Linked DNA regions of Homo sapiens: regions 2, 3, 4 and 5 are each linked to region 1. The links are contacts of gene promoters, found by promoter capture Hi-C in blood cells and fetal thymus (Javierre and others, 2016). All regions are on one chromosome and are shown on one strand. Each heading gives the region's core, a stretch centred on a gene start or on the middle of the fragment in contact. The rest is flanking DNA. Distances are from core to core; before and after follow the strand shown. Region 1 holds the start of RNPC3 (RNA binding region (RNP1, RRM) containing 3). Region 2 overlaps CDC14A (cell division cycle 14A). Region 3 overlaps SASS6 (SAS-6 centriolar assembly protein). Region 4 overlaps AGL (amylo-alpha-1,6-glucosidase and 4-alpha-glucanotransferase). Region 5 overlaps TRMT13 (tRNA methyltransferase 13).

Region 1 (5,891 bases), core at 3,221-5,720:
GCATCTAGCACATAGTAGGTACTTAATATTTTTGAACACATGAAAGTACAAGCCTTAACCAGAGACCGGTTTTGTGCAAGACAATTTTTCCACAGGCTGGGGTGGGGGGTGGGGAGAAGATGGTTTCGAGATGAAACTGATTCATCTCGGATCATAAGGCATTAGTCAGATTCTCATTGAGAGCGCAACCTAGATCCCTTGCATGTGCAGTTCACAACAGGGGCCAAGGCACTGCTGATCTGACTGGAGGTGGAGCTCAGGCAGCCAGGCGGAGTCGCCCTGAATAGAGATAAAGCTTCCTCAGCCTGCCAGTCACCTCCTGCTGTGCGGCCCAGGTTCTAACAGGTGGTGGTTAGGTACCAGGCCGTGGCTGGGTACCAGTCTGTGTCCCAGGGTTTGAGGATCCCTGCCTTACATCATCATACAAAGTTAATTTTAAAATGTTTCAATAATTTTCAAGACCCTAAATGAACTTTAGACCTCTTTATTATCAGTGAAGCCTTGATTATCTGAAATGAAGGTCATCTAACCTGACTTACTCCAACTTTCTTCTTCTCAAATGGGTATCACATATGTTCTTATTTTCAAAGATTTATGGTTTTTCATTTTTAATGTTAACTCCTCCTACCTGACTCGGCTACTTACTCTATTCTTGAACATTTCTCCCTTTGTTTTCTTAATCTATCACTTTCCAATTAGGCCAAATGCTCTCTAGCCTAAAAGCCCTATCAATATTGCCGTTAACCTCTTACTGCTTCCTTTCACTACAGACATTTCCAAAGACAATGACTGGCTCCATGTCCTCTCCTCCAAGTTATTCTTGACCCTAAAACAATGCGTTTTTCATTACCATACTTTATTTACAATGTATTATGATATATTTTTAAAAATACTTTTTTTCTGAAAAAAAATTACCTACCATTATAAAAGTACATATTAATATAATATGAAAGCCCTCTGTAATCCTACTCTCAGAGAAAGATGTTTTTAACATTTTGGTGTATAGTTCTGCCATATTTTTTCTGTGTATATGCTAACATGTATACTATTAGTTTCAAAAAATCTGAGGTTACATCATATATAATGTTTCACAACTTTATTCATGTACTCTATCTGGGCTATCATTCCATATTAACACATACCATTTGACATCATTCTCAGACAGTTGCAGTCCAGTATATGGATATAATGTGATTTAAGGCTTCCCTTCCTTTTACCGATGAGAATTTGGGTCATTTCTATTGTTTCATGGCAAAAAGACTTTAATAGATGTGTTCATTCCTCATTTTGCATCATCACAGGATTTCATCTTCTTAAAACACACTTCTCTTTGCATCAGTGATAATTTCCTTTCTAGTTCTCCTACTTTAACTGCTCCTTCCCATTCTTCTCTCCTAGCTTATTATCCTTTGGGCAAACATATCTATTCACATGGTTGAAGAATCTTTCCATTCTTCACCTTGCCTCAGCTCTCATTAATATTTTTAAATATTTCCATAAAAGTAGCCCAATGACCCCTCCAAGTTAACAGATGACAAGTGAATTCATCCTATGCCTTTGCAAACATCCTCTGGATCCTCATGTCAGCTAATATAACAACCCAAATAACTCAATCCTCAATCTAAATATCCTGAACTATTCTCTCTCAACCCCTATATTATAAAACCTACAAACTCAATCTCTATTGAATATATATTTACTTCCCCCTTTGTCTTCTTACTGTCTTCTTCAGATAGTTATTCTTGCCTTGGCCATTATAACAGCCTTCCATTTGGTCTCCTACCTCTAATAATTCTGCACATCCAATCCATGATATGAACTATACCAGATATCTTTAACAGGCCTGATCATATTATGAGCCAGCTCAAAAGTATCAAGTGTCCACCTACTAAACCAAACTCAATACCTCTCTCCCAGACTCAAATCTATTTTTCAAGTTCCATTTCCATCTCAACCCTTAGCTCCTGCTCCACTTATAACTTCCAATGTCTCACAGCTTTATTTGGTGTTCTGCAAGCCCAGAAGGCCCATCTCCACTTGTTTCCTTCTGAAAAAATCCAATTAATCATTAGACTTCTAGCTAAAAGATCACCTCCTGTGAATGATTCCCTGGCATTATAAAGAAATGTATATTCTCCTTTTAACACTTGAAACATCTTACCTTGTAACAGTCACAGAGATATTTATCAATCTAAATCATTTAGAAATTGTTATTTTAATTACATACGCAGTTAGTTTTTCTTTATAGATAATCTACTAAAGGACTGGGCAAGATCTGCCAACTGACAAATCAAATGTAGTCTGTTGGGGAAACTGTTGGAATACAAACGCTTTTGCTTCTTAAAAACCACAGTTAAACATTATCTGAACCAAGATTGTATAAGAGGATCCTGTTGACAACTTTAATCGTCAAGAAAAAGTCATACCTTTATAGCTGCTTTTTCATTAGGGAATGTGGCAAAAGCTGTATGTTTCTGAAACAGAGTTAAGGTACAAATTACTTCCAATATAATTTCAGTTTCTCACAAAGAAATCTGACTTTTTACCAGTGGAGTAATGTGACATGTTAATAAAATCACGGGAAAGGATGAAAACTCAAGACCATTTAACTGATTACTAATTTCAGTCCAGTGGTTTTCAATACTTTTTGAGTCAGACTTGAGATGAAAGCTATGCAACCTCTATCATATAAAGACACACGTTTTACACATGCAAATAGTTCAAAAGACCAAAAGTTTAAAGACCTGTTCTACACAGAGGGTCACTTTTAACCAACTAAAAATTTATTTCCTTCATTTATGACAGATCTAAAGATTTTAAACTTTCCTCTATACATAACAATGCGTAGTTTAAAAACATTCACCAACAGAGAAATCGTTCTTCAAGGTGCATATTTCCTTTGTGCTTTATCTTTGTAATAATGTTCAATGGGAGAAGTCTATTTTTAAACATAAATTATACGGATTTTAAAAACCATCAGAAAAGAAACACAAATCAACAGTAAAAGAATCACTATGCTAAGGAAGAGCTCTGGTCAATGCTTATTAAAAGTTACTTTAATAATTATATCGCACATTCTAATTTTGTCTAATCTGATACACGATGACCTGATGTACTTAAATTGAGCCATATATAATTTTTTTTTTTTAATTTGCAGGCATAAGTGACATTTAAACTGATCAAAATTGGTCTTTCTTCTAATTCAGTAACTCTCAACTTGGGCTGCACATTAACATTAAAATCACCTAGGGAAACTTTAAAACCACTGAGTCTTGCACCATCGCTATTCCTATTTTAATGAAGAGAAATCTAAAATATCTTTGGATATAAAGCAAAACAAAGTAATTGTGTAAATTCCTACACAGGTACTCTTAACAGCCCTAAAAAATTGTTCCCTAAAAGATGTCATCGGGAAATTTTTATGAAAAGCCTCTTTTTCTAGTTGAAATTCTGCATTTAATTTACGCAAGTCACCAATGTAGCTTCTCCTCTATTTTAATGAACGATTTAACATTGGCTTATAAATGAAGTAGGACTTTAAAAAATCCCTTGATGCACATTTGTAAGAATACTCTTGAGTCCAGGAGAAATAACCCCAAATTCAAAAAAGTTGTGAGGCTCTCAGGATGGATCCGAAAACTCAATATAACTAAGCTAATTTCCATTCTTCTGCTTTGTCGTTCTCACTTGCCCTTTTCTGCAGTGCTATGACTAATCCAGACTCGAGCCGATTAAAACTCCACTTCGCAGAGCAGATATTTTGATAAAAAAGAGGTAGGATGGGGGAGCTCTCATCACACAAGTCCATCTTCCCCACTCGTTTCCATTTTACTCTTGTCAGCGCTCCCCCTCCCCGGTCACTTCCCAAATGCCTTCCCGGGAGACTCCGGAGGGGCGCGCCCTTACCAGTCGCCCCTTATCTGACAGGACCCGCACAGACTGAGCCCCGAAGTACTTCAGCAAGTCCTCTTTCTCCTCAGCAGTAAGCTCAGCCGGCAGGTGCCTGACCAGAAGGGTTCGGTCGCCCCGAGGCGGGGAAAGCGAGGAGGAGCTCGTGCATCCCCTTGATATCGCAAGCGGCTGCTCGGGAGCTGCCATTTTCCTTGGAGAAGCAAAAACAGAAATCGTGGGAAGAAGTCTCAGTCAAAATCGCGGCATCAACACAAGCTGGGAGAAATATTTTTTCCGCCTCGCGCTAAGGATTCTGGAAACCAGGAAATACCGAGAAAGAAAGTCACCTTCTCGCGAGAACTGCGCCACCGAAAAGCGGCAACCCTTCGAAGACTCTTCGGGGAAGGGCGCGGTGCTAATGATTTAAATTCCAGGGGTCTCCGGAAAGACTTACAAGCAAAAATTGGCCCAGAGATGTGCGAGGGTTAACACAAGTTGTCAATCAAAGAAGGAAACAGGAACCCCAGCCACTTCAGGGAAAGAAGGTTGACGCTCAAGGACAAGAGGACTCACGACTGCGCATGTGCGGGCTGGGACCGTCACAGGGCGGGGCGGGGCGCACGGCGGGGCGGGGCGCACGGCGGGGCGGGGCGCACGGCGGGGCGGGGCGCACGGCGGGGCGGGGCGCACGGCGGGGCGGGGCGCACGGCGGGGCGGGGCGCACGGCGGGGCGGGGCGCACGGCGGGGCGGGGCGCACGGCGGGGCGGGGCGCACGGCGGCGAGCGCTATCTGGAGCTGACCGTGCGGCTCTTAATCCCTGGCCTTGGGAAAGTGAATTGGCCTGAATAGCAAGGAGGAGAACTTGGGTGTGGAAATACCGGGTATGTTCTTACAGTATTTAGATGGTAAAATATAAAGCTAGCCAGTTATTCTGTCAACTCATTAGACACCATTGTAGGGAGGAGAACTCAGTTTAAGGGGCAAAACGTTGAGAGTTCAGACTTTTTTCTTGAATCAGTAGGCATTTAGCAGACGGATAGGCCCCTGCCAGGGTTCATTTCGCAGAAATGGCAGCCTCTAGGGAGAGGTAACCTAATAAATAAATTATTGCATGTGTGTGTATGTGTGTGTGTGTAGGGGTGTGTGTGTGTGTGTGTGTGTATGTGTGTGTGTGTGTAGGTGTAGGTACTTTTCTCCCTATTTTACAGCTGAGGACACTGATGTACAAAGAGGTTAAATCACACAGCTAGAAAGTGGAAGAACTAAGTTTTGACCCTTGGTGTTCTGACTGGGGGTCTACATTCTAATCCACTGTTCTGCCTAGATTCTGAATGGAGTGAGGCAGGGATCATCCCCGGAGGGTCAGGAATGTACCCCTCACCCCATACAGAGAGGGCCTTGAGGATTCTAAAGAGAGGTTTTATGCTAGATGTAGCTGCTACAGTCTGGAGAACCAGAGTTCCTCTTACAGTTCTTTTTGCCACTTAAATAAATGTTAGAGATACAGCAGTAAGCAGTATACCAGCAATCTGCTGTCATCCCGCATTGGTTGGGGAAAAGGAGAGAGACAGATATTAATGAAAACTAGAAGACAAACATGAGAAGAACCTTCCCCACACACCCACCAAAATATCAGATAGGTAGAGCCAGACCACGTAGACGCTGTAGATTTGTTAGGAGCCCTTTTTATTTGAGGAACATTTAGAAACTGACAAATTCTTTAAGTAGGTGTGTGTTGAGGGGAGAGAATCAAAGTTTAGGTATGAAAATTTCTCCGGTTGCAATGCAAAAAACAGAAGCAGAAAGACCAGTTGGACTACTGTAGAAGTCTGGAGAAAAACACTACCATAATAGTTTGGTGAAAGTGGACATGTAGAGAAGGAACTGGAATTGAGATACGTTTTAGAAGTAGTTGATAGGAACTTGCAGATGAAGAATAGTAAGCAAGGATAAATTCTGGATTTTTGGCTTAAGCTAGATATTATCCATCTGTAGATGA
Region 2 (6,280 bases), core at 1,932-4,431, 3.2 Mb after region 1:
AAGGGAAAATCGGTCCATCCATCTTTTTATTCAGTAAGTGTAAATAGCTAAAATCAAACCCTTTTCTGTTTTGACAGGAAAGAAACTAAAAGAATTGGAGCATTTGGAGTCCTGCAAGTGGAGGAGGAAGGAGGTTCATCTCCTTACCAGGAGAACAAAGAAACAGGAGCCCAAGGATCAGAGCAAACATTCACAAGGGTAGGATCACCCACCACCCCACAGGTGCAGGTCCTACAAATTTGAAGGGACATAGAAGCTGGGCCTAAAAGCCTTGCTGTCATACTCAACATGTGCAGCTCTTCTCACAGATTTATGAAGTTTATGATGTACCATTATTTTGTCTTCGGTTTTTCTAATAAACTATAATTTAAGTGAGTCAATTCCCAGAGGAATCATTGTTTGAAGTATTGTTATACCTTATTCTACACATTAGAAGCTTCATGTGAAAATTCCCAACACCTCAGCAAAAAGATAAGCTACATTCCAAGAAGTACTCATTCATTCAACAAAATTTATGACTACCTATTCTGAGCAAGGCATTACTAGTTAGCATATTCATCACAGAGTACTTGCAATACAAAAAAAATTAACTGCTTTAAAAACAGGATGAATAAATTCTATAAGATCGTTATAAGGCATGCCAACCTTTCAATGTTTTACCAGCACTGCTGACGTTTTTTGTCTCTTCATTCACTTGCTCACTCAAATAGTTACTAAAAGCCTATTGGTCACCAGTCCCTACCCACAAGGAGCTCACTATCTACTGAGAAGACAGGTAAAGACATTATTACAATGTGATAAATGCTAAAATAGCAGTATCCTCCAAAACACAATGAGACCGTGTGTGTGTGTGTGTGTGTGTGTGTGTGTGTGTGTAAAATTTTGTTGAAATTGATCAGCAATGCCTCTGGGCCACACATTACCTAACAGTTTCCCTATCACTAGAATACTATCCGCACCCCTCCAGTCAGATGATAAAGTTTCTGTATGAGACGTGATTATTATGGCTGAACTCATAATGATCACATTTTAAAAAGGTCCTAACTGCATAACAAATACCAACCTCAGATGAGGGCACTAGTCTGAGTTTTTGCTCAAGCCCTTTAGCATAACCACCCACAGTCACACTGATGCCAACTTCTTGGGGAAGAGTTGCTGCACATCTAACAAGCTTCCCACACACACAGCAGTCTGATGCAGAACTAAAGATCACTGGGTGCCAAAAGGTTCCAGTCCCAATTTGGTCACTCAGTGTCCCTAATCTGGTGTCGTAGCCTCTCTGGGACTCCACGTCCTCATCTATCAAATGAAGCCACTGAATTAGATGGCTCCTAAAGTTCTTTCCAGCTCTTATGTAATATCATATATCACAGTTCTAGCCGCTATATAGACTCTACAGAGTCTATGACTCTAGTTATCCTTATTGGACAAACCCATTCAACTGTTCAAATGTTTCTCAAGGTCTACTTGCCCTATTTGATGTTCTCTGTTCTGTCTGTCCTCTCAGTGCATTGGGTCTGGGTACAGAAAACATTTCCCTCAGAGTGTCTCCTCTTTGAGGAAGGAAAAGAACACAACTTTTTCCATGAAATTCACTGTTTTCTGCACAGCCAGAAAGCAAACCCACAGACTACAAAGCAGCTACATGTATTAGGAAACTTATCATCTTTATTACTTACTTGTCTGCAAAAAGTCTGACATTTGTTGAGATCATAAAGGAAGGAGAGAACCCCAATATCAACTATCAATCCTGTCCCTTGATGCATTGTCTAGATTTCTAAGAAAGTTCAGGTTTACAACACCAGAGGGTGAGGAACCATTCTCCACTTATTACCTTCTTAACCCGAGGTAAATACTGGTCAGGTCAGGTGTCAGCTGCTGTTTCTGTAAAATAAGTGAGTGCTTTCACTTTGCCTTAAAGCCAAACAACAGACCAGATGGTATCAAGAAACCTTCCAGTATCAGGGTCTGTAATTCTAACATCCCTCGTTAGAGAAGGTCAGTTAATAAAAACTCCCTTAGAGACTCAGATTAACGAAAACAAAAGGAGACTTCTTCAGGAATGCACTGGGAAAATTAAAATTCACTCCCACAGAAATATTCTCAAGCAGTGTAAATTAACTCCATTATTCAATGGCTAGTACTGAAGGCAGGAGAGCTATACAGACAGTATATGCAAAGCTTTGTTAGAAAACAGAATGATGAGCGATTCCCCCATACATAAAAGGCTAACCCTCAGATTTCATAAAGTGGCTGAGGCTCTCAAAAGGAAAATAATTACTCTAAAATTTGTGGTGAGGATCACAGGGCCGGGGGCAACGGCTCCGCCTGTAATCCCAGCACTTTGGGAGGCCGAGGCGGGCGGATCACGAGGTCAAGAGATTGAGACCATCCTGGCCAACATGGTGAAACCCTGTCTCTATTAAAAAAAAAAATACAAAAATTAGCTGGGTGTGGTGGCATGCACCTGTAGTCCCAGCTACTTGGGAGTCTGAGGCAAGAGAATCGCTTGAACCTGGGAGGCAGAGGTTGCAGTGAGCCGACATCGGGCCACTGCACTCCAGCCTGGCAACAGAGCGAGACTCCATCTCAAAAATAAAAAATTAAAAAAAAAAAAGATGATCATCCATAATGATGAAGTCTGTGTATGACAGAAAAAAAGTAAATTGTGATCAATAAATTTTTTTTTTGTGACAGGGTCTTGATCTGCCACCTAGGCTGAGTGCTGTGGCATGCTCATGGTTCACTGAAGCCTCGACCTCCTAAGCTCAAGTGATCCTCCCACCTCAGCCTCCAGAGTAGCTAGGACTACAGCCATGTGGAACATGCCTGGCTAATTTTTGTATTTTTTGTAGAGACAGGGTTTCAGCATGTTGCTCGAGCAATCTGCCCACCTTGGCCTCCCAAAGCGTGGAATTAGAAGCGTGAGCCACTATGCCTGGCCAGTAAATTCTTTAAGAAGGCAGAAATGTATATTCATTTTAGAAAGGTTTCCGTAAATTATTCAAATTATAAAACTTTGATATTTCAGAATGTAATTTTCCAATTCTCTGTAGAAGCTGTCTCACTGAAATGCCACATATCCAGATACACAAAACTGAATAAATGCATTACTAAAGTACATCAATCATGGGGACCAAATTTGAAATAAACTACCTTTTCCAGTTCTCAAAAGAAAATTAAATTTTATAAAAAAAAAAAAAGAGAAGTCTAAACTGGCAAATTCTTCAATTTGTCACTAGGATGTGAAAATATTTAAGACCAAAAAATTAAATTAACAATAAAGGAAATATCTTATTCAAATTTATAGTTTACACAAATTATTTCTTATAAAGGAATTCACTGTCAACAACAAATAATTGTGATCATTTACCAGATGTTTTTGATATACGAGTTAAAAAGAAATTACTTAGGCAGGTACTGAGGGTTCGGGAGCCCTCGGTAAGGGTTTCCTTTTAATGAAAAGCAGCCCTAAAATCATTTTCTCTTTTAACAAACAGCAGCCTGTAAAAGAGAGCTGCACACGTAAACAAGCAAGCTGGAAACTTGCACAGGTGAATGTCGGCAGTTGTGCCAGTAGGAATACTACTACCTGGGACTAGGCATGTTCAAAATGGCAGCTCCATCTTCTCTTTTTGCCAGCCACATGTACAGTGAGGAGCAGACAAGACGGCACTGGCCGAGTGGAAAGTCCATTTGCATAATAAGATTAGGGTGGGGTGATCAGCCTTCCCCACCCACTACGTAAACGTCACACCTGGTTGAACCAATCTGCGGGCCCTATGTAAATCAGACACCGCTTCCTCAAGCCAGACTATAAAACCTGTTGCGGTCAGCTGCAGGCCCGCTTTTCCCTTTGGACTCCTCTGTCTCACAAGAGAGGGAGAGCTACTCTCTCCTCTGTCCTTTCTTCTGCCTATTAAAGTCTCTGCTCCTTAACCCACTCACGTGTACCTATTGTTAATCTTCGATGAGATGAAGAACCCCGGGTATTTACCCCAGGCAACAATGCTGCTTCATTTTCAAGTTGTCAAGAACTGGGGATGTTACATATTTTTAATAAATAGAGCAATATTTTTGATGACTCTCAATCCACATAAAATTCTTTGGTGCTCCTGGAAGTATTTCGTTGATTAAAACAAACCAATATATTTTTTAAGTAAATTGAAACTAAAGCTTTAAAAAGAATTATTCACAGCTCTACTTTGCTTCAGTAATGTGAATTGGAACAACTTAAAATGACAAGACATAGGAAACAACCAAAATGACCAAAGAGAGAAAAATGTTCAATACAGTATGGTATATCCTTTCCCCGAAATATTATTAATATAGAGACATTTATGGTGATTTTGAAAAATGGCATTGGTTTACAATGCTCATGTATGATTAAAAAAATCAGCATTTAAAACTGCATATACAAAATTATGCCAATTAAAAATTTATAGCACTGTAGGTTTGAATTTCTTCATTGTAGAAAAGCAATATTCTTTGAAAAATTAAAAAAAATATTTCTAAGACACAATGAATTTCACAATTCAGTATAAAAAATTCAGCTCAAATCACAAAGCCAGAAAGGAACTTGAGATCAGTTGTGCCACTTACCTCCCCACATTTTAAATATCCAGGACAGACACGGTCTATTTTCCGCTTAAAGATCACAAAAGACAAAGACTCCATTATAATGACCCCCTTTTTACTTCCTATCTCCAATCCTCAAAACAAAACAGAATAGCAAAAAGGCAGTTTCCTTCTGATTTACGTACCTCACCTACTTAAAGGTGTCCCTCTCTCCCAGTCACCCAAGCCAGAAACTTTGAATTCACCTTTGCTTCCTCCTCCCTACCCGCATCTGCTCAGTCCCAAATCCAGTCAACCAATTCTTTCCAGCCTCTCCCCATCTGGCCTTTCTTTCCCCACTGCTGCAACCCTAATCCAATTCTTCCATAGCCTAACTGACCCCACCTTCGAGCGATGGCAGCACTCGTCCTAAAGTAGAGCCCTGGTCACTCTCTGCCATTTACAAGCAAGCACAATTTACTGACATCCAAACAGTTTTCCACAATCCAGTCCCCAACTAAGTGACTGCTGCTGTGACCTGTGACTCCTCTCCATTCAAATATTATTACACCTCCTCTAACAGAATCTTGCTATTCCCAAACACCTCTTGTGCCTTTTCTCAGGACTCTGCCTGAAATCTTTTTCTTTCCTTTCTTCCTCATTCACTTACTCACTCATTCATTCATTCAACTAAAATTTCTTGAGCCCCATATCTATGCCAGGCACAGTGCTAGGTGTTGGGACATAATGGTGAGCAAAAACAGGTAGTACTGGTCCTCACAGAGATCATAAAATGTACTCTTTGCTATTATACACCCTTCAAAAACTAGCTCAGTGCTTATCACCCTGGGTAGCAATAATCTCTTCCTTTCTTGAACTCCTAACACATACATTTGCAGCTTTGGTCATGTATTATCCTGTACTGCATGTGTTTCTACTTCCTTCTTTACAAATACATATCTCCAAAGCATTAGTACAGTGTTCTGCATCAAAATCTATCCCATCTAAATACTAAGTTTCTTGTATAGCAATTTTCAACCACTTATGAAAGTTTTAAGTTATGCTTTTCACTTCCCATAAAAATGTGTCAAGAGTTTTGTGAGGCTTGTGTTTTAGTTTTTAGTTTTTTTGTTTTTTGTTTTTTGTTGTTTTTTTTTTTTTAAGCACAAAGGGGTATTGAGCTGTGGCTAAGTAAAAGTCATTTACTTCTGGCTTGGGAATGTGTTTATGAACTTACAAATGAGAACATCTGATGTCTTAGGAATCTACTTCAAACAAAATAATGAAGCCGCCCTGTGGTGACCTGGCACAGAAAGAACTTGGAAGGCTGACAGCTCCCCACTGGGATCTCCTGCAGCCCACTTGGAGCTCTCTCTCAGGCTGCATGATTATGACTAGCCCTGTTAAGATAACTCTCCTTAGCACCTCGGCTACATTTTTTGTTTTCACAGCCTTATCTCAAGCAAACTGAAAAAACAGAGTAATAATTTATCATTATGAAGATTAGAGATCAACTCTACACCGAATGCCTAAGAGGTCAAAACAGCAGATATTTAAATAAATCATTATCTAGAAGGTAAATTTGATTCCCCTGGATTACAGAATTAAGAACTGTGGGCCAGGCACGGTGGCTCACACCTGTAATCCCAGCACTTTGGGAGGCCGAGGCAGGCAGATCACTTAAGGCCAGGAGTTCGAGACCAGCCTGGTCAACATGGTGAAA
Region 3 (6,136 bases), core at 3,637-6,136, 3.4 Mb after region 1:
AGAATACCTGGCAGGTACTCAGTAGTGTTGGTAACCCTTCCCTCCCCTCTCATGGAGCCCTAAAATGCAATCAGAAGCAAATCTAGCAAAAAGTCATTAATCTCATCTCAATTTGAGGACAGAGACCATGGTTTTTTTTGTTTTGTTTTGTTTGTGTCATCCTATGTTCAAAAATTATTATTTTTTTTTTTTTAGAGAGAGGCTGTCACTCTGTTGCCCAGGCTAGAGTGTTGTGTCATAATCATGGCTTACTGTAATCTCAAACTCTTGGTCTTAAGCTCTCCTGCTTCAGCTTCCAGAGTACATGAAACTACAGGCATGCACCACCATGCCTGGCTCATTTTATAAATTTTTTGTAGAGATAGGATTTTGCTATGTTGCCCATGCTGGTCTTGAACTCTTGGCCTCAGGTGATCCACCCACCTCAGCCTCCCAAAGTGCTGGGATTACAGATGTGAGCCACTGTGCCAAGCCCCTGGACCATGTTTATTTCTGTTTGTATCCCTAGCACCTGGCACAATACCTGGCTTAAAGTACCTTTTATTTGTTTGATTGATAGTTTAAGAGCACAGCTACTGGGTGTCAGAGATGGCCTAGAATCCAGTTGTGCTAAAGCAAGCCTGATGTTTAGAATACTTTTTATTTAGAAGAACTCATAACTAAATCTAATGTCATTAGTATTAGACATCTATTGAGTACGACATCTATTGAGATGAGAAATAACATTTTATTGAGTTTTTATTGTTTTATATTGCTCTTATGACATTAACCATTATAAGGGAAAAAATAAGATTTGTGATTTTAGTTAGCGTATCCTCTGAAAGCTTGTATTTTTCTACAGCATATTTCTAGGGATGTTTTTTAACTAAGCATGGGGAATTCGTTTAACTTACAGGCCTTCCGTTTTTTCTTTCAACATCTAATGTATATAGGCATTTGGAATATATGCAACAATATCATTAATATGATTGGTAAATTGTCATAGTAATATAACTCTTCCAGGATTATGTAAAGAACACTTTGATAAGTGAATTCTTCTTGTACTTTTTGCAAATATATGAAGTATGACAGGACTTTTAAAACCGTAAAACACCGTCTAGGTGCAGTGGCCCACGCCTGTACTGCTATCACTTTGGGAGGCTGAGGTGGGCAGATCACTTGAGGTCAGGAGTTTGAGACCAGTCTGGCCAACATGGTGAAACCCCATCTCTACTAAAAATACGAAAATTAGCCAGGTGTGGTGTTGTGCCCCTGTAAACTCAGCTACTCAGGAGACTGAGGCAGGAGAATCGTTTGAACCTGGGAGGCGGAGGTTGCAGTGAGCCAAGATCGCACCATTGCACTCCAGACTGGGTGACAGAGCGAAACTCTGTCTCAAAAATAAATAAATAAATAAATAATTAAAATAAAAATAAACTGTAAAGCACCATAAAAAGTTAAATACCAACTGCAGTATCATACCACTATGGCATTTATACTAGAGAAAACTTCAGAAGATGAAAACCAAACATAATGATGTAGAGCTAAAAAGGTTTTCACAAACCTTCTAGTTGAATCCACTTATCTTACAAGTTCGGAAACTGAGTCCCCCCCTCCCCCACCCCACCACGAAAGCTTAATCTTGCTGTGTTGCCCAGACTGGACTTGAACCCCTGGGCTCAAGCTATCCTCCTGCCTCAGCCTCTGAAGTAGCCAGCACTACAGGTGGGAGGCACTGTGCCCAGCTCAGGAAAGCTTAAATGGAATTGGAGTAACACTCTAATCTGTTTCACATATGTTGCTTTAGATACTAGAAAAATAGCAACAGTGTATTCTCTTGTTTTGAAAATAATTCTTCCTCTCTCTGGTGTAAACCAGTGCTTCTTGTTCCTTTTCAGAAAACAGATACAAGTTATGAGGTAACATTTAACCTTATTGTACAAACGGAGATTTAGCATCCAATCATATGTTCAACAAGAAACTTAACTAAAATGACACATTTTAAACCCATATAAAATTACAAGTCAGCATTAAAAAATCTAAACAATTGAATCTAGCCTTGATCAACTGTTTCCAAGTTTTCCTATCAGTACTCAATTGCTGTTTATACTTTTTACTTGTGTAGTAGATAAGCAATAGTGTGGAAAAGGTTTAAAAGAAGTCCTTAGAAGAAAAACTTAAAATTGAACAAATTCTATTTGTTAGTTTACTTTTTTCTACCTGCACATCAAAGAAAGGCCATTGTTATTTAATTCTGGCAGAATAGTTTGAGAAGTACTTGTGCATAGGTATTTTTTACTAATTTCTCCCTTTATTTTCTGAATTATATAAGCATTTGTGCTCTATTTGATTAATGTTTATGAGCACTTTCACCTATATACCTCTGTCCAATTCTGGATTCTCTAAGATACAGCATAGGATGTGGAACACTGTGGTCTCTCCCTCTCAGGGCTTAAAGTTACTTTACTCAAGGATAAAATAGGTGTAATAAACTTGTTGATAATACTTCTGTGGTTTTATTACATAAAGAATATATTAAGCAGATTTAATTCGTGGATGTGAAAATACGTTTTTGTATGAATAAATGTAGGGAATATGTTATTTCCTTGATTTTAAACATTCAAAGCATTCTAATATCGCTTCACATATTAAGTTTTTATTTTATTTTATTTTATTTTTTGAGACAGGGTCTCTGTTGCCCAGGCTGGTGTGCAGTGGTGCAGTATTGGCTCACTGCAGCCTCTGCCTACCAGGTTCCGCATTTCTCCAACCTCAGCCTCCCAAATAGCTGGGACTACAGGTGGGTGCCACCACGCCTGGCTTGTTTTTGTATTTTTTGTAGAGATGAGGTTTTGCCGTGTTAACAGGCTGGTCTCCAACTCTTGACCTCAAGTGATCTGCCTGCTTCAGCCACCCAAAGTGCCAGGATTACAGGTGTGAGCCACTGCGACGGGCCACATACTAAGTTTTTAAAATGCAATCAGTCTCTCATTAATCAGTTTGATTACATGACATGGTAATTTTTTAATGTGAAAAGTTGTTACTAAATTGGTGGTTTGTCTTTCTAGATGTTATTTTAGAATCAGGGCAGTAAGGGTATATGAGGTTCTTACCTCATTTAATCCTCAAAACATCCCCATTTTACAGTTGAAAAGTTACTAAATTGATGGTTTGTCTTTCAATAGATGTTACTTTACAATCAGGGCCGCAAAGTCATATATCAGGCTAGTGCTAGGCACTCCACAGTGTTTATTTCATTTAATCCTCACGATATCCCCATTTTACAGGTGAGAAAAATTTAGTTTTAGGTTAAACACTGCTAGATTACTCACTAGTGGAACAAGAAGAAATTAAGCTTCAAATCCGGTGTGCTTTTCAAACTTCTGTTCATAAGTTAGAGAACACCTGTGGAAAGTCTTGTCACTTAAGACTGAAAACTTAATACAAATGATAGTGATAACTCATTTCGTGTGAATGTTTCTGATGGTTGGGTATGTCTTTTCCTACAGGAGAGTAAGTATAAGAATGAGCATTGAACTACAATCAGTTTCTAATCCAGTTCACAGAAAGGTTGGTATTTAGTCCTTTTTTGAAATATCATTTCGGTACATTGTAGACAATTAGTTTTGTTCTTTAAGAATGTGACATCTTTTATTGCATTTATTTTGCTTTTACATTTTAGGCTATTTTGCAACTGTTGGAAATCAAGGGTGGTGGAATCTACTGAGACAACAACTGAAGGATAATTATACTATATATTTCTTTTTTTTTTTTTTTTTTTTGAGATGGAGTCTTGCTCTGTCACCAGGCTGGAGTGCAGTGGCACGATCTCGGCTCACTCACCTCCCGGGTTCAAACAATTCTCCTGCCTCAGCCTCCCAAGTAGCTGGGACTACAGGCATGCACCACCACGCCCAGCTAATTTTTGTATTTTTAGTAGAGACGGGGTTTCACCATGTTGGCCAGGATGGTCTCGATCTCTTGACCTTGTGATCTGCCCACCTCGGCCTCCCAAAGTGCTGAGATTACAGGCTTGAACCACTGTGCCCGGCCTATACCATATATTTCTAAAACATACGTGAAAAATTGTGGGGTGGGGTGACATTCTCCTTAGATTTGCCCAGTGCACTTAGAAGTTGCATATTATATATATATAATAACATATATATAAAAATATATTTTATTGCTGTTGGTCATACACACACACACACACACACACACACACACACTGCTGCCTTGTAGAATTGGCATTTCATGGTATAAATGTAAAAACAATAAACCGAAGTACTGCAGGGAGATATTTGTGAATCTTTTACTTTACGTTTTGAAGAGAGGCATTTAGAGTATCAGTCTCATATAACCTTCAAAAGTGTGAGTCATTAACAGAACTAAGGATATAGAATAGAGGAGGGGTCCCCAACCCCCTGGCCACTTACTGGTACGGTCTGTGGCCTGTTAGGAGCCAGGCTGCACAGCAGGAGGTGAGTGGCAGGCAGGGAAGCGAGTGTAACCTCCTACGATCCACCTCCTGTCAGATCAGTGGTGGCATTAGAGTCTCATAGGAGTGCAAACCCTATTGTGAACTGTACATGCAAGGGATCTCAGCTGTATGCTCCTTATGAGAATCTAATGGCTGATCTGAGGTGGAAGTTTCATCCTGAAACCATCCTTCACTCCCTAATTCTTGGAAAAATGTCTTCTACAAAACTGGTTTCTAGTGCCAAAAAGGTTGGGGGCCACTGGAACAGAGAACTAAGAAATACGGCATCTGTGCCAAGGGCAGTGCCTCACACCTGTAATCCCAGCACTTTGGGAGGCTGAAGTAGGCAGATTGCTTGAGCCAGGAGTTTGAAACCAGTGTAGGCAACATGGTGAAATCCCATCTCTACAAAAAAATACACAAATTAGCTGAATGTGGTGGCACACTCCTGTAGTTCCATCTACTTGAGAGGCTGAGGTGGAAGGATCACTTGAGACTGGGAGGTTGAGGCTGCAGTGAGCTGTGAGGGTGCCACTGCAACCTAGACTGGGCGACAGAGCGAGACCCCATGTCAAAAAACACTGAAATATAGCATCTGTTTTCTGTGTGCCATAGCTTTCCCTGAACACATTCAAGGACCTAGTAGTATTAATAGTACCTTTGGTTTTTTAAGTAGCATCCTGGGTGAATTTCAGGAAGTACTTAAATAGAAGCTGCTTAAGAACAAGGCATTCTGAGGCAGAGCAGGTGCCTAAATTACTAATTTTCCAGAGTAGAGATGATATATTATACTTCTTACATGTTATTCCTTATGCCTGCTGTACCTCTTCATTTTCTAGCTTGGTGCATAAGTGGTTTAGATTTTTCTAGGATCTTAGCATTTCCTCAGTAGACATGAGTAGAGATTTTATTTCAAATGAATTCTTAACCTTAATGCCCAGTTCTTTATTAGTTTTACATCATCTTGTAACTAATGCTGTTTTTCTTTCACCAGTGTTCTCTGGTACATAATTTTGGTGTACTTTTTGTGAGCTCTAGCTGTTATGATGGTCTCCCACACTATGTACACGTAGCTACCTGGAAAGTGATCTTTATGAAAGGTACTTACTTCATTTGAGACTGAAAACAGTTGGGCTTCCATATCAGTGGCCACCTGGCCTAGGAGAGAATAGGCTCTTTGGAAGAAGCCTGGCAACGTGTTACCTGATACCCTGGTCTTCTGAGAGACAGAAGCTCTTTTTTCTAGTGTGGATTATTGTCAGTTCTGCTGATATATTTGCCACTTTTGAAATGCCATACCAGTTAACTTTAAGGAAACTAAAAATAAAATTGAATGTGGTATGTTCAGTGGTAAAGAAAATTTTCATCATGTTATGGTGTAGCAAGGACTGGGTCTAAATTTCCCCAAGCCTCTGATAGGAGGATATTCCTAAACTTTCAACTCCTAGCACTTGCTTAACTTTTACAGACCTCCATGTGGCTTTTAAAGAGCGGAATGTCTACCCCTATTTAAGATTCTAACTCTCTAAAGACTAATAAAAAACCAGCAGCACTAGAAAACAAAGCTGTCTGCAATATAACTATGATACACTGATGTTGTTGGATTTCTTTACTTCTGAGAAGAAATTACTCAAAAGGCCAGATCTAGTAAAAACATTTAAAAACAACAAACTTTCT
Region 4 (5,427 bases), core at 2,081-4,580, 3.7 Mb after region 1:
TATGTTCTATCTTTTCCCCTCCACTCAATTTATAGAAACTCAGTCTTCTAATCAAAGAACCTTTATGTCTAAATATTTTCTTTAAAAAATAGTAAAAATTATAAATTTCATCAACCTACTTAAAAGATGGAAGAATTTCAGATTTGGGAAGTACTTATTTTGTTCATTATTCTTTTTTTTTTTTGAGACCGAGTCTCGCTCTGTTGCCCAGGCTGGAGTACAGTGGTGTGATCTTGGCTCACTGCAACCTCTGCCTCCTGGGTTCAAGCGATTCTCCTGCCTTAGCCTCCTGAATAGCTGGGACTACAGGTGCATGTCACCACATCTGGCTAATTTTTGTATTTTTGGTAGAGATGGGGTTTCACCATGTTGGCCAGGCTGGTCTTGAACTCCTGATCTCAGGTCAACTACCCGCCTCGGCCTCCCAAAGTGCCGGGATTACAGGAGTAAGCCACCGTGCTCGGCCTGATTTTATTCATTATTCTACCACTAAATGAGATAGGAAATAAGCGAAAAAGCTATGATTTGTCTAGAAAAGATCATTATTTATTCTTGTACTTGTTGAACTGGAAGAATCTATAGAAATATCAGTCTTAAAAACGAGGAGGAATTCCTTCTTGTAGAAAAGAGAGAAGGAAAGAAATATGAGGGCTTTGATGACCAATTAAATATGAAACAGCCAAAAACTGCCAGAGTTTTTCCTCACATTTGATTGGTTACCAAGTCCTCTGAACTTGAAAATAACTCATACTTTGTCCTCTCTTTTTCTTTTTTCTTTTTTTTTGAGTCGGAGTCTCGCTCTGTTGCCCGGGCTGGAGTGCATTGGCACGATCTTGGCTTACTGAAACCTCCGCATCCTGGATTCAAGCAATTCTCCTGCCTCAGCCTCCCAAGTAGCTGGGATTACAGGCACCCGCCAGCACGCCTGGCTAATTTTTATATTTTTAGGAGAGACAGGGTTTCACCATGTTGGCCAGGCAGGTCTCAAACTCCTGAACTCAGGTGATCCGCCTGCCTTGGCCTCCCAAAGTGCCAAGATTACAGGTGTGAGCCACCGCGCCTGGCCTTGTCCTCTCTTTTTCAACTCAGGCTGTTCAATCCTTTTCTTTAATCAGATGTGTTTTTAAAATAGCCTTCTCAATGCTTCTTGTCTCCAATGTCCCTTCTCTACCACTCTTCCACTCATCTTTCACATTTCAAATTATCTTTTTTTTTTTTTTTGAGACGGCATCTTGCTCTGTCACCCAGGCTGGAGTGCAGTGGCGCAATCTCAGCTCACTGCAAGCTCCGCCTCCTGGGTTCACGCCTTTCTCCTGCCTCAGCCTCCCGAGTAGCTGGGACTAGAGGCGCCCGCCACCAGGCCCGGCTAATTTTTTTTGTATTTTTAGTAGAGACGGGGTTTCACTATGTTAGCCAGGATAGTCTCGATCTCCTGACCTCGTGATCCGCCCGCCTCGGCCTCCCAAAGTGCTAGGATTACAGGCGTGAGCCACCGCACCCGGCTTCAAATTATCTTCTAAAACAAAATGATCACACCATTACTGCAAAAAAAGGTGGCACATTCTCATTTATAACATTTGGATACATTTACCGGTTTTAACCAGAGTTATAAAGTCAACCACATCATTCTTTTTTCATAAATCCTTCAATTTCCCTCTTCAAATAGGTTAGCTTTTACAATTTTTGCTAGTTTTAACTAGAGTTCTAGTAATCAATCAGCAGTACACTGCACTAAGTTTGTAAGGCTGTCCCTATCCTCACAGATTTTATTTTATTTTTTATTTTTTTTTAAGATAGAGTTTTGCTCTTGTTGCCCAGGCTGGAGTGCAATGGTGTGATCTCAGCTCACTGCAACCTCTGCATCCCAGGTTCAAGCGATTCTCCTGCCTCAGCCTCCCAGGTAGCTGGGATTATAGGCATGCGCCACCACGCCTGGCTAATTTTTGTATTTTTAGTAGAGAAGGGGTTTCACCATGTTGATCAGGCTGGATGGTCTCAAAATCCTGACCTGGGGTGACCCACATGCCTCGGCCTCCCAAAGTGCTGGGATTATAGGTGTGAGCCACTGCGCCCGGCCCTTTATTTTTGTTTTTTAAAGACAGGGTCTCACTCTGTCACCCAGGCTGGAGTGCAATGGTGGGATCATAGCTCACTACAGCCTTTAACTCCTGGGCTCAAGAGATCCTCCAGCCTCAACCTCCTAGGTAGCTGGGGACCACAGGCAAGCACCATCATGCCCAGCTAATTTTGTTTCTTTTTTGTGGAGATAAAGTCTTACTATGTTGTCCAGGCTGACCATGAACTCCTGGCCTCAAGTGGTCCTCCAGCCTCAGCCTCCCAAAGCACTGAGATTACAAGTGTGAGTCACCTGCCCTCATCAATTCTCACAGATTTTAAACCCTAGTCTGACACTGTAAGACTAACAAGCCTTTAGACACTGCTTCATTATTCAGCACTTAATAGTTCTGTGCTCATTGTGTAATTGGAAATCAAAGGAAGCAGACAGTGAAAAATTAGGGAAAGACTTCACAAAGGAGGTGATATTCTAGCTGAAAGTTGAAACTTAGGCAACACATAGACTGACAGTAAATGAGATTTAACAGATATAAAGGAATCTGATGGGAGTACGGGTATAAGGACAGGCATGAGAAAACCTGCTGAGAAGGGAATTAACAGGAATGACTTGGGCAACTGTAAAGATCTATGACATTAATGATGGAGAATGAGATACAATCTTGGCTAAGGAAGGTGTAGTCTCATTACAGAATGTCTTAGAAGTCAGACAGAGGTATTTAAATTTGATTTTATACATACCACTTAATAACAAAGGGAAGAGACTGCATAAGATTATTCTGGCATCTATATTCAGCCATACAGAATAGACAGGCAATCAGAGATATTTGGAAAGAAACTGCAAGCTTAAAAAGAGACTGCAGGAAAAGAGAAGAAATCATCAAAGAATATAAGGTTTCTACCCTGGGAACTATAAAAATGGAGATGCCACGAAATAAACAGGGAAGCTGAGAAATAAAGGATCGAGAATGGGCAGGGGATATTTTTGGACATGCTAGATTTAAGCATATCCAAGTTGAGCTATCCTAATACTATTCTATTGCATAATATCAGGTTGAAGCCAAGGTCCAGGGTGGGAATACATGGAGTGATTCATATCAATGCCTTATATTTATTTAGGGCTTTATCACAAAAAATTCATGTATTATTAATTTTGAGTCTCAAAACCTAGAAAGGTAGAAGAACAGAAATTACCACTTTCATCTCACCAATAAATAAATTAATGCTCAGAATTGGGGCCATGCCCGGTGGCTTATGCTTGTAATCCCAGTACTTTCAGAGGCCAAAGAGGGAGGGTTGCTTGAGTCCAGGAGTTCAATATCAACCTGGGCAACATAGTGAGACCCAGTTTCTACAAAAAAAAAAAAAAAAAAAATTAGCGGGGCATAGTGATGTATGCCTGCAGTCCCAGCTACTTGGGAGGCTGAGGCAGGAGAACTGCTTGAGCCCAGGAAGTTGAGGCAGCACTGAGCCATGATCATGCCACAACACTCAGCTTGGGCAACAGAGTAAGACCCTGTCTCAGAAAAAGAGAAAAGGAAAAAAAAAAAAAAAAAAAAAGAAATGAATGCTCAGAATTAATGTAACTTGCCCCAAGTCAGCTTGTTAGCAGCAGAGCCAGGAGAATTCTGGCTCTAGATCTACCCGTCATCAAATGCTGAAAGCTTCCAAGAAGAAGAAAGCTCAAGGCTTTTCCTCCAAAAGTAGTCATTAGCACAGAGGCAACAGTTGAGGCCATGAGACTGTGTAACTAATTCTTTGAAGGAGAACAGAAAAAGAATTCCTAGCAGATACCCATAATTAATTAAAAAGTGAAAGGAAGAGAGCCTAGTAAGAGACACCAAGTTGACAAGAATATGCAACAGGGGAGGGGGAAAAAAAAATCAAAACCAGAAAAGTGCAGAGTCAGGAAAGCCAAAAATGGAGTAGGTACTCAGTGATTTTAAATGCCAAAGTTGGAAAAAGGCGCGGATTTGGCATGAAGATATCACATTGTATGTGTGAAATTTTTTTCAAAAATTTAATTCTTAAAACATTAGCGAAATTTAAAAATTCCTTTGAAATGTTTATGACTAGCAACATCCATTTGGTACATTAATAAGGGGGACTGGATTTTTCATATATTACACTTCTTCAATGTTGAAAAATTACAAAGGCTAAGAAAATAAAACATCTATTAACTAGCCTTGTAGAAAAGTAATTTGATCTTTTAAATACAGATCAACTATATATAGTTCAACATAACCAGATGAGTTATTGCACTTTTTATTTGCTAAGAAAATATTTTCAGCTTTTACCTACTCCACATTTGAGAAGTTTTTGATATACATAAACAATAGTTTACTATACTTTTTGCTGCAATCTATTTTGTCAATTCAAAGGTTCAACAAAGGAAAAGAGACAGTTATACAAAGGCAAAACTACATGCATACCCAAAGCAAAATTACATATGAAGTAATTTACCAAGTTTTAATAGTAAATGTTATTAGAAATAATATGGGCAATCTTCTGATCATATATTTAACTTCAATCTTAAGTGGGAATTAGTACGCAGAGAAAAGAGAACTATTTTATCCTTATCCTAACACGAGGGATATAAAATATTTTTAATTCAAATCAACATTAATTAGTGATATATGGAGAACACAGCACCATCTTTGCACAAATCAAGTTTTAGACCCTTGGAAATAATATTTATCTTAGAGCTTTAAAACATTTAACAGGACTGCCAATGAATTAAAAGTTTAAAAGACGCAAATGAGCAAATCAAAACAACTTGCTACTGACCTTGTTCAAGTCTGAAGAGGGTCTTTTCCAGTTTCTCCATTTCGTTCAGAAGTAAAATTCGAATCTGTTTACTGTGTCCCATTTTGGCTTCTAGAGGATTTGAAATCTTTCATAAGAATTAAAAGAACTCCACAGTCGAATGAGTTACCCCTATGAAACAAAAAGGAGTTAAAATATCGAAAATAACTATTGCCTTAAACTCTCCAGAGCTGACAGCGGCACTTACATGTTCGAAGTGTGTTTTATGCCTAGCAGAGCAATGAAAGAGAATGAATCTTATAACTATTAAGATTCGAGAAGGCAAATTAATAGTTGTTTCCTGCCTTTGAGCACAACGAATAAGACCGAAATAAAAATGCTGTATTACAGATTCTTACAATTAAAAAATTAAAAACCTAGACCATTCTCAGAGAAAAGCAATACACTTAGGAAAGCCTGAAGTCAGGGGGACATTCCCAGCCCCAAGCCACAGGGCTCTGGAGACTCCGAATGGCACTTCTGCTTACAAGAGATTAGTCTGCTCAAAGATAACAGGTGGGCAATCTCCCCATTCCCAAATTCGGGTCG
Region 5 (5,598 bases), core at 2,131-4,630, 3.4 Mb after region 1:
GTCTGTATAGTACTGCAAAGCAGGACTGAATCCCTTCTGCTGCAAATACTGGATTCGACCTTGGTCAATCAGCAATTTACAAAGATGCCCTATTTTCTTCTTTTCTTCAACACTAAGAAGCCTAAATTGAATAAACACACACAAAACATTGTTAAAATTTTGCAAAAGTTTATAAAAAATTATTTTTGTCACTATTTATTGAGAGACTGTTAACTAACCCATAATGTACTAAGTACTTTGTCCCATGCTTCCAAGACACATTATATTTATGACCACAATAAAAGATGTGTATATTTTAGCTTATTCTAAAATTAGATTATAAAATACATTTTCATGAATTGTTGATAATAGTCATCTAAAGTACAGTACAATATAATATTTCTCCTTTAGTATCATGCATTACAAAAGTAGTCTCTTACCCAGGCAAACAATCAGCGCCATCATCTGTGATTCTGTATCCTCCATCATCATGCTCTTCACTATCATCATTCTGATTATCTTGCCTCTTTGTGGTACTATTTGAGGTTTCCAAAGATGTTTTCCGCATCCCACAAGTTGCCCAACTACTCATTCGCTGGAAATAATGGAATTCCACTGCTCCAAGGCCTAGAGCCCTGAAATATTCTTTGCCCACATAATGTCTCCAATCACACCTGTGGTGACAACAGAGTGCAATAACAATGCCAGCCACAGGGTTCCACTTCTCTGGGACATTTTTTTCATTTCCTTCCTTGGCCAAAGTGTAAATTTCTTTTTCTGTTTTATCATTCTTTATGCGTTTGGCTAAAGGTTCTTCATTCCTTTCCTCAAAACTGGCAGCATAGGTTTCAACCAAACATCGTAATGCAAGATCTGCAAACACAATTATGTGGCCCCCCCAAACCACATCATCTTTAAAAATAAATACTTTTTACATTTATTAAGCAGTACTGTTTTTAAAAACTCAACAATAAAAACAGCAAAAACCTACTCAGCTTTATATTTGTAATAATACTATCATGAATTATCAACTTCATTCAAATTTGCTCTTCTATCTTCTCAATTTCTTTAATGATTTATTCTGCATAAAGCCTACTTCCCAATAAAGCTATCTGAAGCTTAAGATCTACAATTTGAAGAACTTTTACCCAACTACCTGAATTGTCTCTCACTTTTCCTACCTTAGCTGAGGAAATGACTTGTATGGGAAAACTTTATTCACCTACACTTACATTCTAGTTTAAGAAAGGAAAAATGAAGGAAGGAAGGAAGGGAGGGAGGAAGGGCAGACAAATCTGTTTAGGTTGATGCTAGGTCAAGATGCTTGTCTTGAAGAGGCTCATAGCAAATAGTGATGAACTGAAGAGTTGAAAAGAGGGCGTCAGAACAGAATCTGGAAAGCAGGCCTCACTGAGTAGCCTTACTGTATTTATTCATTTATTTAACAAACATTTACTGAATGCCTTTCATGTGCAAAGCACTGAGGATACAATTATTAATATACACAAACTTAAGAGGCAGATGTACTCCACATTACAATGAAAATATTTTAGTATATTTTAAAACTAAATAAATGGATTTTTGATGACTATGGCTATTTCCCATCGAAAACTCCTACACTGTTGACAATACTGGAAAGACCCAAAATGTAGGACCCATATCTTCTTAATCATTAGATTGTCATGTTGTGTCTGTTCAATCAAAAACATATACATATTTTAAAATTTTATTACCCTAAGATATCACAAATGACTATTAAATGATCTGATATTTCACTAGTAAATTTAATTCAATATATGAATTTAAGTCAACAAACATTAGAAACCCATTATTTGCAGAAAGTGATAGCTAATCTATTATTTCATAAACTATTATTTTCTGACAAAATACATTTAGTCATTGTTTTATTCATATTTGACTTAAGTAAGTGATTTTCAGAAATGTGAATAACCAGATAAATTATTAAAAGAATTAAGTTATTTCAGGCCAGGCGCAGTAGCTCACGCCGGCTGAGGTGGGCAGATCACGAGGTCAGGAGATGGAGACCTTCCTGGCTAACACGGTGAAATCCCGTCTCTACTAAAAATACAAAAATTAGCCGGGCGTGGTGGCACGAGTCTGTAGTCCCAGCAATTCGGGAGGCTGAGGCAGGAGAATCGCTTGAAGCCGGGAGGCGGAGGTTGCAGTGAGCCGAGATTGCGCCACTGCACTCCAGTCTGGGCGACAGAGCGAGACTCCGTCTCGAAGAAAAAAAAAAAAGAATTAAGTTATTTCAGAATTAGAAGGAGCTTTAGCAATTTATCTCAATTCATCTTTTATAAAGAACTTAAAAGACAAAGCCACATATGCAGAAAGGGACAAGGAAACACAGCAAATTGGTAGCCAAGATTATTCATTCATTCAAATATTCACTGTGTTCCTGTTATATAGCAAGCATCGTACTAAGTATATACCATATACTCAAAAAATTCAGAGCATGGTGGAAGAATTAGATATATAAACAGATAATTAAAATACCACAAGGTAAAAATATGCAGAGGGTATTATGATAACACCAAGGAGGCATATCTTATTTAAGGGAGCTCCCTGAGAGTGGTGACAACTGAGGTGAAGGATGAGTAAAAATTGACCAGTTGTTTTGTTTGGGTGAGTAGGTGAATGGGGGTGAAATTCCAGATATAGTAGAAATAGTACAGTCTATGGAAAAGCACACAGGGTTTGATGTTGCTGAACAGCAAAGTAGGAGACAGGGAATGTAAAGAGAGGAAGGCTGAAGCCAGATTGAGACTAAAACGTTATGTCAAAGAGTTTGGACTATATCAGGAAGTACCGAAGAGTTTAAAGGGAAAGACACATTAGTTGTGTAGCAGATGGGTCTGAGATTGATTGACCGATTGAGATAGGGTCTTGCTCTGTCACCCAGGCTGCAGTGCAGTGGTGCTATCCCAGTTGACTGCAGACTCAGACTCTTAGGCTCAAGTGATCCTCCCACCTCAGCCTCCTGAATAGCTGGGACTACATGCACAAGCTATCGTGCCCAACAAATTTCTGTAGAGATGGGGTCTTCCTATGTGCCCAAGCTAATCCTGAACTCCTAGCCTCAAGCAATCATCTCACCTCAGCCTCCAGTGTTGGGTTTCCAGGCATAAGCCACTGTGCCTGGCCTGAATATTAGTATTTTAAGGACAGAAGTGGAAGGAGACTGTGAAATAAACAGAAGAATGGCATAGATGTAGGGGAAGAACCAGGAAATAAGAGTATCGCAAAAGAGAAGAAAATGGAATTTCAAAAAGGGTAAGCAACTGCAGCAGAGACAAAAGGAGGATTCAGATACAGTGAATCAAGGGAAAAAATTATGTGGAACATGAGAAATGGCCACTGTAGGTCAAAAGAGTGTACTCCCTCCTACCCCCGGGATGGAACTGGTTTACTTTAGAAGACTTTTATGAGGCTTAAATGAGATAAGGTATGCAAAAGTACAGTCATGCATTGCTTAACTATTGGTGTATGTTTTGGGAAATGCATTAGGCGATTTCATCATTGTAGGAACATCAGAGTGTACTACACAAACCTAGATGGTGTAGTGTAGCCTACTACACACCTAGGGTGTATGGCACAGCCTATTGCTCCTAAGCTACAAACCTGTACAGCATGTTACTGAATACTGTAGGCAACTGTAACACAATGGTATTTGTGTATCTAAATACAAAAAAGGTACAGTAAAAATATGGTATAATTTTATAGGACCACTGTCATATATGAGTCCATTGTTGACCAAATCATCGTTATGTTGTACATGACTATAGTCTTAAAAACTATGAAGGCCAACACAAATATATAGTACTCAATGCCATTTCCAGCCAATATGAATAATATCTATGGATGCTCCAAGTAATCCATATGGGTAGATGATGAAACTAGCAAAAGTTAGGAAGATGATGTAACAATAATTAACATTTATTGAGCACTATTATGTGCCAGACACTTTACATGCAACCCGGTAAATTATTAATATATTAGTATCTCTGTTTTATAGATGAGGTAACCAAAGCTCAGAAAGGTTAAGTAATTTGACAAGGTTACACAACAAAGCTGAAGGCTAGACTATCTGATTCTAAAGCACATGCTGTTTCCACTTTACCATGCTAGATCTGATGGATCAAAGTGCTAAGACAAGACATCTTAGATTTTTTTTTTTTGTCTAACATTTATTTTTTTCTTTTTCCCCAGAATCCTGAAACACAATAGTCTTTTAGTAGAAGAGGTTTCTGAGTTCTTTCTAAGCAACTACTCTAAAAAATCAGTAGCTTCTAGGTGGAATCATACAGTTTCCATAAATGGTCTTATTTTCCTTTTCTGGTTGAAATTTAACCCAAAGAACTTTAAGGTCTAATGTGATGCAGTATTTACATACAAAACTCTTAATTCATCCTGCAAAATGGCCAATATGAGCAGATAAATAGGAAAGCTATGCATCTAATAAAGCACAGGGCCAGTGCTCTATAAAGATTATTGAGTTGTAAACATAAGATATCTATTCAAAAGAGACCACTGAAATGGTTGGGGCCAGGTTAGGCCAAAACTTAATGCATTAATGTAAACATTATCAGTATGTTTACGTACCTGTTGCCATACCACACAGATGCTTTCCAATTCCTACCACAGGTAGTTTTTCTTCTCTTAGCACAGGAATCTTGTCTGAAATGGAAATGAGAATTAACTGTCTAGTGAAATAAAGTACATATTAATGTGGCCTTCCAAAAGAAAGAACTAATTAGAGTCTCTGAATTTTAGCCTGAAAGAGACTCAAACAAAAATTATCACTTTATGGAACCCAACATATAACATAAGAACTTGTTTAGGGTTCATAACATCAGAAAGTTAATATATTCAGCTAAATAATTTTAAATACATTGATTTCTATACAAATGCTGGGTTGCTTTTCATGGCTGGATTAAAATTGGTGAATGGAAGAGGTTGCAAAGATATGTTTGCATTATTTTCTTTGGATAATCTGAAAAATAGAAAAGGTATAAAAAGGGCACTACAGAGGTTGATTGAGGAGTTTGTGTGTGTATGTGTCTGTGTGTGTTTTGTGTATGGAATATGAATCCCACAGTGATGACTTCTTTTGTACAATTTAAAATTCTAGGAAGTATCTTTTACACATTAGCTAGGCAGAGAAATATCTCATTTTCTTTCATGGTTTAGGTAAAGTCACGTTAACTGCAGGCAGAAGGCTAGTTTATAGTTTGAACAGACTCAAAATTAATTTAAACAGGACAAAGAAACAACAGAAGTACATATTATAAAACTTTTAAACTCTTCCCTAATATAACACTTCATTTCCACTTGATACTGAAAATTTTTAAAATTCTCAACCTTAATTCAATTTACATCTATTTAAAAACATTATATAAAACATTCTATATTAACAATGAATTGATTTGACTGTTTTCCCTGAAGCACAGTTCTGCATGATTGGATTTCTAAGCAACCTCAGAGTTTAAAACAGTTATGATTTATTTGTAGACCAATGGAAAGTTACACAACTTACTCAAACACAAGTGTTGAATATCAATTTGAAGTCTTTCAAACACTGAATTTTTCTTTCTGTGT

The links. The method cuts DNA at HindIII sites, captures the fragments that hold promoters and counts their contacts. A CHiCAGO score of 5 or more calls a contact.
Region 2: a fragment that was not itself captured here is called in contact with the fragment with the promoter of RNPC3 in region 1 in 2 of 17 cell types (total B cells and fetal thymus); the score reaches 7.2 in total B cells.
Region 3: a contact is called between a fragment that was not itself captured here and the fragment with the promoter of RNPC3 in region 1, in 2 of 17 cell types (naive CD8 T cells and naive B cells). The highest score is 6.2, in naive CD8 T cells.
Region 4: a fragment that was not itself captured here is called in contact with the fragment with the promoter of RNPC3 in region 1 in 1 of 17 cell types (total B cells); the score reaches 5.7 in total B cells.
Region 5: a fragment that was not itself captured here is called in contact with the fragment with the promoter of RNPC3 in region 1 in 1 of 17 cell types (naive CD8 T cells); the score reaches 6.3 in naive CD8 T cells.

What each region holds. Positions count from the first base shown.
Region 1 is chr1:103,524,278-103,530,168 of GRCh38, reverse strand. RNPC3 (RNA binding region (RNP1, RRM) containing 3) reads right to left here and starts at 4,470. Exons shown (of 15, transcript NM_017619.4): 1 at 3,907-4,470; 2 at 2,427-2,474. The coding sequence starts at 4,098. It overlaps RNPC3-DT (RNPC3 divergent transcript), which reads left to right and starts at 4,661. Exons shown (of 4, transcript NR_168321.1): 1 at 4,661-4,773. RefSeq lists an enhancer at 4,019-4,258 and a silencer at 4,579-4,678. The HindIII fragment of the contact is 7,657 bases long and covers 298-5,891 here.
Region 2 is chr1:100,360,538-100,366,817 of GRCh38, reverse strand. All of the region lies in intron 2 of CDC14A (cell division cycle 14A), which reads right to left. Among named protein-coding and RNA genes, the nearest start is that of CDC14A, 11 kb to the right of the region's middle. The HindIII fragment of the contact is 1,995 bases long and covers 2,184-4,178 here.
Region 3 is chr1:100,123,295-100,129,430 of GRCh38, reverse strand. It overlaps SASS6 (SAS-6 centriolar assembly protein), which reads left to right. Exons shown (of 17, transcript NM_194292.3): 2 at 3,489-3,549. Among named protein-coding and RNA genes, the nearest start is that of SASS6, 6.6 kb to the left of the region's middle. The HindIII fragment of the contact is 3,099 bases long and covers 3,337-6,136 here.
Region 4 is chr1:99,850,558-99,855,984 of GRCh38, reverse strand. It overlaps AGL (amylo-alpha-1,6-glucosidase and 4-alpha-glucanotransferase), which reads right to left. Exons shown (of 34, transcript NM_000642.3): 2 at 4,861-5,010. The coding sequence starts at 4,942. Among named protein-coding and RNA genes, the nearest start is that of AGL, 2.9 kb to the right of the region's middle. RefSeq lists an enhancer at 4,530-5,427. The HindIII fragment of the contact is 819 bases long and covers 2,921-3,739 here.
Region 5 is chr1:100,143,148-100,148,745 of GRCh38, reverse strand. It overlaps TRMT13 (tRNA methyltransferase 13), which reads right to left. Exons shown (of 11, transcript NM_019083.3): 8 at 5,537-5,598; 9 at 4,603-4,677; 10 at 420-852; 11 at 1-121. It overlaps LRRC39 (leucine rich repeat containing 39), which reads left to right. Exons shown (of 10, transcript NM_144620.4): 10 at 1-298. Among named protein-coding and RNA genes, the nearest start is that of TRMT13, 13 kb to the right of the region's middle. The HindIII fragment of the contact is 4,562 bases long and covers 1,100-5,598 here.